Regions from separate parts of the Homo sapiens genome. Here regions 2 and 3 are each linked to region 1. The links are contacts of gene promoters, found by promoter capture Hi-C in human tissues and cell types (Jung and others, 2019). All regions are on one chromosome and are shown on one strand. Each heading gives the region's core, a stretch centred on a gene start or on the middle of the fragment in contact. The rest is flanking DNA. Distances are from core to core; before and after follow the strand shown. Region 1 holds the start of COL15A1 (collagen type XV alpha 1 chain). Region 2 overlaps GALNT12 (polypeptide N-acetylgalactosaminyltransferase 12). Region 3 overlaps GALNT12 (polypeptide N-acetylgalactosaminyltransferase 12).

The links. Contacts are between HindIII fragments. The study calls those that stand out against the background at their distance.
Region 2: a fragment that was not itself captured here is called in contact with the fragment with the promoter of COL15A1 in region 1 in 2 of the 25 tissues and cell types used here (mesendoderm cells and thymus).
Region 3: a fragment that was not itself captured here is called in contact with the fragment with the promoter of COL15A1 in region 1 in 6 of the 25 tissues and cell types used here (H1 embryonic stem cells, adrenal gland, bladder and 3 more).

Annotation. Positions count from the first base shown.
Region 1 is chr9:98,942,193-98,945,319 of GRCh38, forward strand. It overlaps COL15A1 (collagen type XV alpha 1 chain), which reads left to right and starts at 1,715. Exons shown (of 42, transcript NM_001855.5): 1 at 1,715-1,880; 2 at 1,970-2,058. The coding sequence starts at 1,870. It overlaps COL15A1-AS1 (COL15A1 antisense RNA 1), which reads right to left and starts at 2,460. Exons shown (of 1, transcript NR_198999.1): 1 at 1-2,460. The HindIII fragment of the contact is 13,688 bases long and covers 1-3,127 here.
Region 2 is chr9:98,822,111-98,825,237 of GRCh38, forward strand. GALNT12 (polypeptide N-acetylgalactosaminyltransferase 12) reads left to right here. Exons shown (of 10, transcript NM_024642.5): 2 at 1,146-1,315. Among named protein-coding and RNA genes, the nearest start is that of GALNT12, 16 kb to the left of the region's middle. The HindIII fragment of the contact is 3,177 bases long and covers 129-3,127 here.
Region 3 is chr9:98,847,135-98,850,261 of GRCh38, forward strand. GALNT12 (polypeptide N-acetylgalactosaminyltransferase 12) reads left to right here. Exons shown (of 10, transcript NM_024642.5): 10 at 1,818-2,947. The coding sequence ends at 1,958. Among named protein-coding and RNA genes, the nearest start is that of GALNT12, 41 kb to the left of the region's middle. RefSeq lists an enhancer at 1,513-1,807. The HindIII fragment of the contact is 4,468 bases long and covers 1-3,127 here.

The sequences.
Region 1 (3,127 bases), core at 465-2,964:
GATGAGAATATCCACAACCTCTAATAATAGAAGCCAAAATCCAATGGACAGAGAGCACTGTGGTGTACCAGTAGGTGGTCCCATCAAGGGACTCACAGCCACCATTCAATTCAAGGTAGTTGTGTCCATTATCCAGGTGGAGAAATAAAAAATCAGACCAAGGGCAAGATTTGCCCAACTTCACCCTGCAGCCAGGGCCAGCATTGGACTGGAACCCAGACTCCTGATCTCCAGGCCAACCATCCCTCCTCTGAGCCCTCACCGCCCAGGCTGGCATGAACCCTTTCATATCCGAGTGCTCTGTGTCTCCACTGCGATTTTGCTCTTGAGGGTGGAGAGTGAGTCTAATCTTCTTGCTTACTGGCAGGCAGCATGGCTGAGTGGGGAGGAGCATGGGTGTTGCATCTGCCATTCATTAGCCTTGGAATGTTTTGAACCTCAGCTTTCTTATCTATGAAATGGGGATCATGACAGTATCACCTTTCCATGGCTGTTGTGGGTATTAAATGAGATAACACAGCTAAAGCATTTAGCAGAGGGCTTGGGACATAATCCACACCAAGTAAGCATTAGTTGCTTATATCCATTCCCATGCCATCTCCTCTGCAAGGCTAACTCACTTGGCAAGAGGTGACCCATCCTCTAGAGTGGAACTGAATCAAACACAGGAACTGACCACAGAGCCACGGCCCACTGTGGCTACTTGGTGCTTCAGGAAGAGAGGTTTCTAGTGTTTACCTGGCTTCAGAGCTGTCCAGGTCTCAGCCAACTTCAGCGGTGCCTCTTCTCACTCCAAGATCTCACACTATGTGCCGGGTGGTAATCTTAATAAAAAGCGACCATTGAGGGTTTACCCAGTGCCCTGCGATAAGCTCTGCACAGATGGGTTAGTCTGCCCTGAACCGCCTCACTCCCACTGAGGGCTTTCGGAGGCAGAGCCTGGTTCATGACCCCCACATCTCATCACAGGGCCTGGTGTGATGCCTCACCCAAGACTGTGCTCCTTCATTCATCCAGCGTTTATTGGCATCTCCTACTACCTGAGCTGTTTTAGGCAGGGAACAAAGCACAGATAAGCCCTCCTGGAGCTTACATTCTGATGAAGGGGGCAGGCAAGGTATACATAGGGAGGAAAGCCCTGGAATCCAGTACATTAAAAACTTTTATTAGGATTATCTCTGCTGCATTTAGTTGTATGTATCCCTTATGGCCCCCAGGCAGGTCCACTCCTGGGCATTCAAGTCGGTCCATGTGTCAGGCGTGCAGGGTGGGTCACAGCATCTAGGAGCTCAGTGCAGCTTGGGACTTTGGGACATACGCTCCACCTCTCTGAGCCTCAGTCTCCTTGTCCATCATATAAGGAAATCACTGATTCCAGCCTTCCTGGGCTGTGGAGAGGATTCCCTCAGCGGCTGTGAAAGAGTGCTTTCTTGCGGGTCAGCCCCGACAGGACAGACTTAAGGGCGGGAGGGAGCCCATCCCGCTTGCCCCAACGAACGCGGGCGCGGGGCTTTCCTCGCAGGTTACATAAGGCAGCCGCGGGTGGAGGCAGCAGAGGCGAGCGCACGTCCGTCGAGGGGGAAAGGGGCGTGGGGAGGCGGCCGGGGCGGCCGGTATCCCCCGGGCGTGAGTGCGCAGCGCGCGGGGGAGCGCAGGGCGCGGCGGAGTCGGGTTTCAGAGCGCGGGTGACTCGGGGCGCGGGCCGGGAGCCGGGATTCTGCCCGCCGCCGCCGCTGCCGAGCGCCGCCTTTGTTCCCTGCAGGAAGGGCGAGCGCGGCGGCCAGCGCTCAGCGACCCTTCGTCCTCCGCTAAGCTCCAACGCTCTGCTCGACTAGCCGCGCGCCTTCCGGGGCTCCGCAGACCCGCGAGATGGCACCAAGGTAAGACCCGCTTCTCTGCTTCCTCGCGTCCCGGGCCCCTCCAATACTCTTGCCCGCCTCACCTTTTCTCCCTCGGGCACATCTTGCAGGAGGAACAACGGGCAGTGCTGGTGTCTGCTGATGCTGCTCTCGGTCTCCACGCCCCTCCCTGCTGTCACCCAGACCCGCGGTGCGACAGGTAAGCAACCCGGTCGGAGGGTGGCACCGGCTGCCTCCGCGCCCGTGGGGGAAGTCGGTTTTGGCGGCGGACGCGGCTGCGATGCGTGCCTCATTCCTGGACATAAAAGGGAGTCTTGCCACTCAGTGCGCACTGGCGGTCCCGCGGGCGGCTACCTCCTGGCAGTGCAGGGGTTATAGCTGTGAATGGGATCCCTGGGCAGCTGGGGCGGTTGGAGCGTTGTCTGGGCACCCGAGATGTCTGAGCTGGGTGCGGAGCCTCCAATCTTAGGCAGAGAGGGACTTCAGAAACAGCGCCAGCGCCAGCGCCAACAGCCTCAGCGCACCCAGCGCCAGCAGCTTAGGTTGTGCGTGCTGGCTGGCTTCTGGTAAGGGCAGGTCTGGTGCCTCTCCGCACACAGGTGCGAAGCATGAACACCGGGAGGGACATCTGGGGCTTTTGCTGCTCAAGAAATAACGGAACTGAATTGCTCGGTTGCTTAACCCAGCTCTGAGTTACCTAAGCGGTCACGTCTATCATGGGCAGTGGCTCCACCGGTGGTGGAAAGAGCTGTGGCCTGGAAGCCAGAGATCTGATCCCTTCCGTTCCCCGGGCCTCAGTTTCTCCAGCAGAACTCAGGCGGTTGGCTGAATAGTAAGATATAAGTTAAAGTAGACCTAAGTTAAAATGGGCCTCGGTTAAGGTCAGACTGCCTGGGTTTGAACTGTGGCTGGCTGAGTGATCTTGGGCAATGGATTTCATCGCTCTGTGCCTCAGTTTCCCCATCTGAAAAAGGCGATTAATTAGACCATTTTACCTTCCTAGAAATGTTGTGAATATTAGAGAAATTAGAAATAATGTGCTTCCCATGATTCCAGTATATACTAGGCACAAAATAAGTGATAGAAATTACTGCTTGATTCTTGCAGTAACTATGTGTTGGAAAGCAATGCAAGTATTTTTATTTTTATTTTAGATTCAGGGAGTGGTCATGTGTGGTTTTTTACAAGGGTATATTGCACGGTGCTGAGGTTTGGGCTTCTATTAATCCCATCGCAATGCAGGTATTTTTATAACATTGAGGTTGAGA
Region 2 (3,127 bases), core at 467-2,966, 120 kb before region 1:
TCTTTGATCTGTCACTTAACTAATCTGGGAAGGCCTTGCCTTAGCAACCCAGGGAGCCTAGCTGGTCTCCAGCATTTCACCCCCTTCTTGAGTATCTAGCTGATCTCTTGGCCTAGCCTTGGCCAGCCCCCAGCATTCAAACTTTGTCCCTTCTGGTATCCCTGTGGTTTCACTCTCCCACCTTCCCATCAGCTACTTCCCACTGATAGTCTCCAGGCACTGCCCCTTAGTCAGTCCCGTGACACTGGGAATTTGTCATGTCACTCAGGATAGAATTCTGTGTCAACCAGGGAACCTTCAGTTCAAAGTGACGGCAAATTGCTAAACAAAGAGGGAGCTTATTGGTTCTAATCACTGCCAGTCAGGCCCACTGCTGGAGTTGGGTGGGCTCAGCCCCACCCCACCACATGACTACCACATCTTGGGGGGCAGGTGGCAGCGGGGATTTGGGGGAGGTAACCAATGTCCTCTGTAGAGTCCTTCCTGGAGTGTCTGTAGGTCCTAGCCACAATTCTAGTTTATGCATTTGGGACACCACCTTTGCTAAGCCTAGACAGTATTGGATGCTGGGAGAGGGTAGGGAGTGGTACAGTGGTACATGAGGACTCAGAATACTGTCAGTGGTGCATGCTGAGATGGAGGTGGGCCGGGTGCTGGAGGAGCATTGAGGAGACAGCAACTGCCCAAGATACGTGGTCCCAGGCGTTTCACAAAGGAGAACAGGCCTGAGCTGGGAGCTTGCCAAGTACAGAAGGGAGGAAGGGGCATTCCAGGCAGAGGGAACAGTCTGAGCAAAGGCCTGGGAGTGAGACTGGGGCAGAGTAGACAGAAAGGAGGGCGATGGGGAAGGAAGACGTGCCAGTTCCCTTCCTTCTGATTCTGTCTCGTTTGTATGTTGCTCAAATCAAAAAGTTGCTTGACAGCTTAAAACAATATCCCACAGTAAAAGCTAGGTGGGTGCCATGGTTAGGACCTTTCTTGGAGTCTGCTGGGGCTCCTAGTGCCACAAGGGGAGCTCTGGAAGATCCTTCAGTGGATTATGTCCCCTTCCGCAGGGGACCATGACCTATGTCCCCTTTGTCACTCCATCCCCAGTGCCAGCCTGGGCTAGATCCTGAGTTCCTGAAGTTCCGCTGTATTTGCAGGTGCAAAGAGAAGAAATATGATTATGATAATTTGCCCAGGACATCTGTTATCATAGCATTTTATAATGAAGCCTGGTCAACTCTCCTTCGGACAGTTTACAGTGTCCTTGAGACATCCCCGGATATCCTGCTAGAAGAAGTGATCCTTGTAGATGACTACAGTGATAGAGGTGAGTCCCGGCCAGGGCTCTGGGAAGAGCCTGTCCTTCTGTAGCAGTGTCTGGGAGGTGAGAGTGGGATGCAGGAGGGCTAAAGTAGGCCCAGTAAGGATGGGCTTCCTGTATCCTCCTGTACCCAAGGAAGACCTCAGGGATAGTAGCCCAGAAACAGTAGGCGTGGGAAACTGGAAGGAGCAGGGCATTCTCTTGGCAGTTTCTGGGACTGTTCATTTCATTGGCCAGTGGAGGTGATGTAGGAGGTGAGGTTGCAGGATGGGCAGGGCCAGATCTGGAAGGGCCTTGGAGGCCACCATAAGGGGTTGAGGCTTAAGTGCAAGCTTGATGGGGAGCTTTGCAGACAGCAAGGTCCAGGTCCCTCTGAGGAGCTCACTGAGCCAGCTGTGCGGGGAATGGCCAATGGCAGGGGAGGGGCTGGGTGAGGATGGAGGCAAGGAGGGTGGAGGGGCCTCTGTGGTGCCCACATGCAGCAGAGCCTTGGCTTGGCTGGGACTGGCAGTGCCAACGGAGTAGCATCAGCCCGTGAATCCTTGGGGCCTAGCTGAAGTGAGAGCAGCTAAGCTTAACCAAGGACAAGTGTCAAGTCTGTAACAGCAGGTAGAGCTGTGGGCTTAGTCACTACAGCCTGTCTCAAAGGGAAGCAACCCCTGCTGATGGGGCATCTGCTGCCTCAGATGCTGCACTTGCTCTGACTTCAAAACTGGCCTCTGTGTGTTCTAATAGGTGTGTGCATTGGGCTGTTTTCACAGACTCAATAGTGACTCACACAAGATAGAAACAGGCTTCTCACATCACAAATCTGGTGTGCTAGTCTAGAATGGGTGTGGTGGCTCCTTGGTGGATGGGGCCTCAGCTCCTTCTGCACCTGTTCCCACCTTCTCTAGGGTGCTCTGCTGCCTTGGTCCTCATGGACCAGGCTGGTTTTTCACCTCCTACTCACTCTGGTCAACCAGAAGACTTAAAGGGGAAGGAGAGCCACACCCTTCCTCCCGAGGGCACTGCTTGGAAGTTCTCCACACATCCCATTGAGCAGAGCGTGGTTGCCTGGCCACGTGTAGCTGCAAGGGAGGCTGGGAGCTGTGGCCTTTATCCTGCTGGCTGTGTGTTCAGTTACAGGTCACAGGGAGAATGGGTTTAAGGCACAAGGAGCAGTGTCTGTGACAGCGTGTAAGCCAGGCTGGGGTAAGCCAGGCTGGGGTTTGGTGCTGACTATAGCCTAGAAGGCATTGGGTTCTGGGGTCAGGGCACCTGGGTCTGAGACGATGATCCAGTTATGGCACCTTGGGCGAGTTGCTTGTCTTTTCTGAGCCTCAGTTTCTCACCTGTGAATGGGTCTGTCCACACCTATCTCAAGAGAATTATAGTGGGGAATAAATGGGATCATGTATAGGACAGAACCTCATGTAGCAGCCGGCACATAGTAGGTGCTCATCTGCATTTCCTTTTTCCGTTTCCCCCCAGGGTCGTTTTAAATCTCTCCGTGTGGACATTGGTTCTGGGCCACACTGCACGGGCTTGAATCCCCCTCCCCCAACACCTAGCGACTAGACAACTTTGAGCAATGACCCTAACCAGTTTCAAACTTGGCTTCAGCCTCTATAAAATGGGAATAATGATAGCTTCTACCTTGTAGGATCATCGTGAGCATTGAATGAGATGAGGAGGGTAATGTGCTGGGTAGGTGCTTGGCATTTAGTGAGCTCTTGTTAGATGATAACTTCTATTTTTATAATGTTTAAATGTTTAAAAAGTTGCAAAATGAAAAAAACAGCATTTCACAAATATATTAATCTAAAGTCAAAGAGC
Region 3 (3,127 bases), core at 209-2,708, 95 kb before region 1:
TAAAAAGCATGTGAGGGAATAAATCCAAAGAAAATCATTTGAAAGAAAAAAATTCATTGTTTTTTATCTCCCTGGGCAGCTTTCACTCCCAATATACTGCTTATAAATGGGTTTATTCTAAAGATGATTAAAAGCTGGAATATGTTTTCCTGCAGAAAAATGTTGTCACTAGCAATGACATTTGCAGGCTGCCCAGAAAAGCCACACACCATGGTGTTACCTATTGAATACAGGAAAATAAGAAGGAAAAATACTTCTGCACACCCCAGACGTCTCTGATCTTCTTGAATGTCCTCCTCTTCCCATCTTTCTCCCAACCAGAAGCCATTGTAAGCCCTCAAGGAATGGTAGTGGACACTAGAAACAATAAAATCAGTTTGACATATCAAAAATTTTATCTTAAATTTCAGTGACCATTTAAGGAAAAGGAAGTTTGTTCAGGAGGCTGGGAAGAAGGATACTGAATTGGATTTTTTACCTTTCTTCAGGACGCTTAATACTTTGATTCATATGTGAAAAGGATACAGCTTGATTTATTATATTTCATCAGTCATGCCCTAAATATATATATATAAAACAAATATATATTGAACAGAAACATATGTGAATTCTGAAGGAAATGTCCCCACTTATATTCACTAGACCATAATAGAAAGCTTAGTTCTTAGGGCTGGATCTTTTTTTTTTTTTTTTTTTTTTGAGACGGAGCCTTGCTCCACCAAGGCTGGAGTGCAGGGGTGCAATCTCAGCTCACTGCAACCTCTGCCTCCTGGGTTCAAGCGATTCTCCTGTCTCAGTCTCCTGAGTAGCTGGGACTACAGGCGCCCGCCACCACGCCCAGCTAATTTTTTGTATTTTTAGTAGAGATGGAGTTTTGCCATGTTGGCCAGGCTGGTCTTGAGCTCTTTGGCCTCAAGTGATCCACCTGCCTCAGCCTCTCAAAGTGCTGCGATTACAGGCGTGAGCTACTGTGCCCAGCCTTGTATTTTCTTATGTAGGCCTAAAAACCTCTGAAATGTCATTTCTTGGATTCTACAAAACATGAGTTTGGATTTTTTTGAATGAAAAAAGTTCCATTTAGTGAACAGCACATCACAAAGGTTTTTCACTGATGTTGTTATTCACTCTGCCTGTTTGCTGCTCAGCCATGATTAAGTTCGTTGCATACAGCTTATAACAGAGAGGCAGAGGGAAAAGATAAACACCAGGCCTGAGAGAGAGACTTGCTGAGATAATTGAGCAAGGGCTGGCAGAAAGGAGAGAAGCAGGAGGTCATTAAAGAAGACCATCGTCTTTGGGGTTTGGGAATTGGCACAAGGCATATAACCCACTGATTCTCTGATGTGTGACAGGTGAGTAGCTCAGGCCAAGTGACTGGCTTCCTCATCCATCTGGTCTGTGGCTGAGCTGGGACTACAGCCAAGTTTCCACACTCTGTTTAAATACCTAAGAGAAAGAGATCACCCTGCACGGAATGAGTTGACCTAAGAGGAGTGAAAGAGATAAACAAAGGATCTTTGTTCCTGATTTCCCTGAAGGAAGCCAAATGCAATAGGGAGATGTAGGGTATGACACATGCCCAGAGCAGCCAGCAGGTGGCACCATCGGTCCTGTGAGAGGCAAGCGGGACGCAGCCTGTACAAGCCTGGTGCTGTGTCCCCGGGACAGTCCTGAGTTGCTGCGTTACACGGAAGACACTTACCCCTCAATAAATATTTCTGAAATGGTAAAAATCAGACCCTGATCTCTTTAAAACATGTCTTTAGGAAAAAGAGACTTTTCTGATGACTTGCCTGTCATTCTGTTATCTTTTGTAGGATGGATCTTTATTTCACGAACAGTCCAAGAAATGTGTCCAGGCTGCGAGGAAGGAGTCGAGTGACAGTTTCGTTCCACTCTTACGAGACTGCACCAACTCGGATCATCAGAAATGGTTCTTCAAAGAGCGCATGTTATGAAGCCTCGTGTATCAAGGAGCCCATCGAAGGAGACTGTGGAGCCAGGACTCTGCCCAACAAAGACTTAGCTAAGCAGTGACCAGAACCCACCAAAAACTAGGCTGCATTGCTTTGAAGAGGCAATCATTTTGCCATTTGTGAAAGTTGTGTTGGATTTAGTAAAAATGTGAATAAGCTTTGTACTTATTTTGAGAACTTTTTAAATGTTCCAAAATACCCTATTTTCAAAGGGTAATCGTAAGATGTTAACCCTTGGTATTTAGAAAATTAAAACCTTATAATATTTTTCTATCAAGATGTATATTTTACAGTCGTGCCTTTTACTCTCATTAGCAAAAAAGATAAAGATTTTATTTTGGTATTTACAAGAATTCCCAGGTACGAAGATATCTGCATGGGTGGAAATCAGGTTCAAGCAACGTACTTTGCATTAACTGATAATACCTCAGCTGCGGGGTTAAAGTTTTCCCAGTATAGAGAGACTGTCACTAGGAACATTGTATTGATTTATTCAGGTCATTGAGATCTTCTAGATGTATTTTAAAAAGAATGCTTTTTGGTTATGTGTTGCTACCACAGTTAACACTCCATAATGTTCATGTCAGCCAAAGAGGACTAACCAAAGCTGAAATCTCAGAGAACAATTTGCTTTACTAAGCTGAGTCAACTTGAGAGCGAACTTCTAACAATGCCGCACTGTAGTGTGGCTGGTTCTACCACTATGACTTTAAAACATGTTTATATCATTTTTAATTTTTATGATACGGTAGTGTCAGGGAGAAATGTAATGTTCTATATGAAATTCCTTTTTCAAGTTTGTTCATTAATAACAGTTATTAATTTAAATCAGCGTTAGAGTTTGTGCTGCTGCAACTGCTGTGAAAATTTCTCTGAGTAATTCTGATTTGTGAATGATCCCAGACCAACCCTGAGATTTTGTCAACCTGATTAAGTCAATATGAATGATTAAAAAGATGTGAGAACACTGACTGCAGATCTTTTTGTACTGTAAACCAAAAATAAAATTCTAGGGCCGGGTGCGGTGGCTCACGCCTATACTCCTAGCACTTTGGGAGGGCAAGGAGGGCAGATCACTTGAGGTCAGGAGTTCGAGACCAGCCTGGTCAACATGGCGAAACCCCGTCTCTATTAAAAATACAAAAATTAGC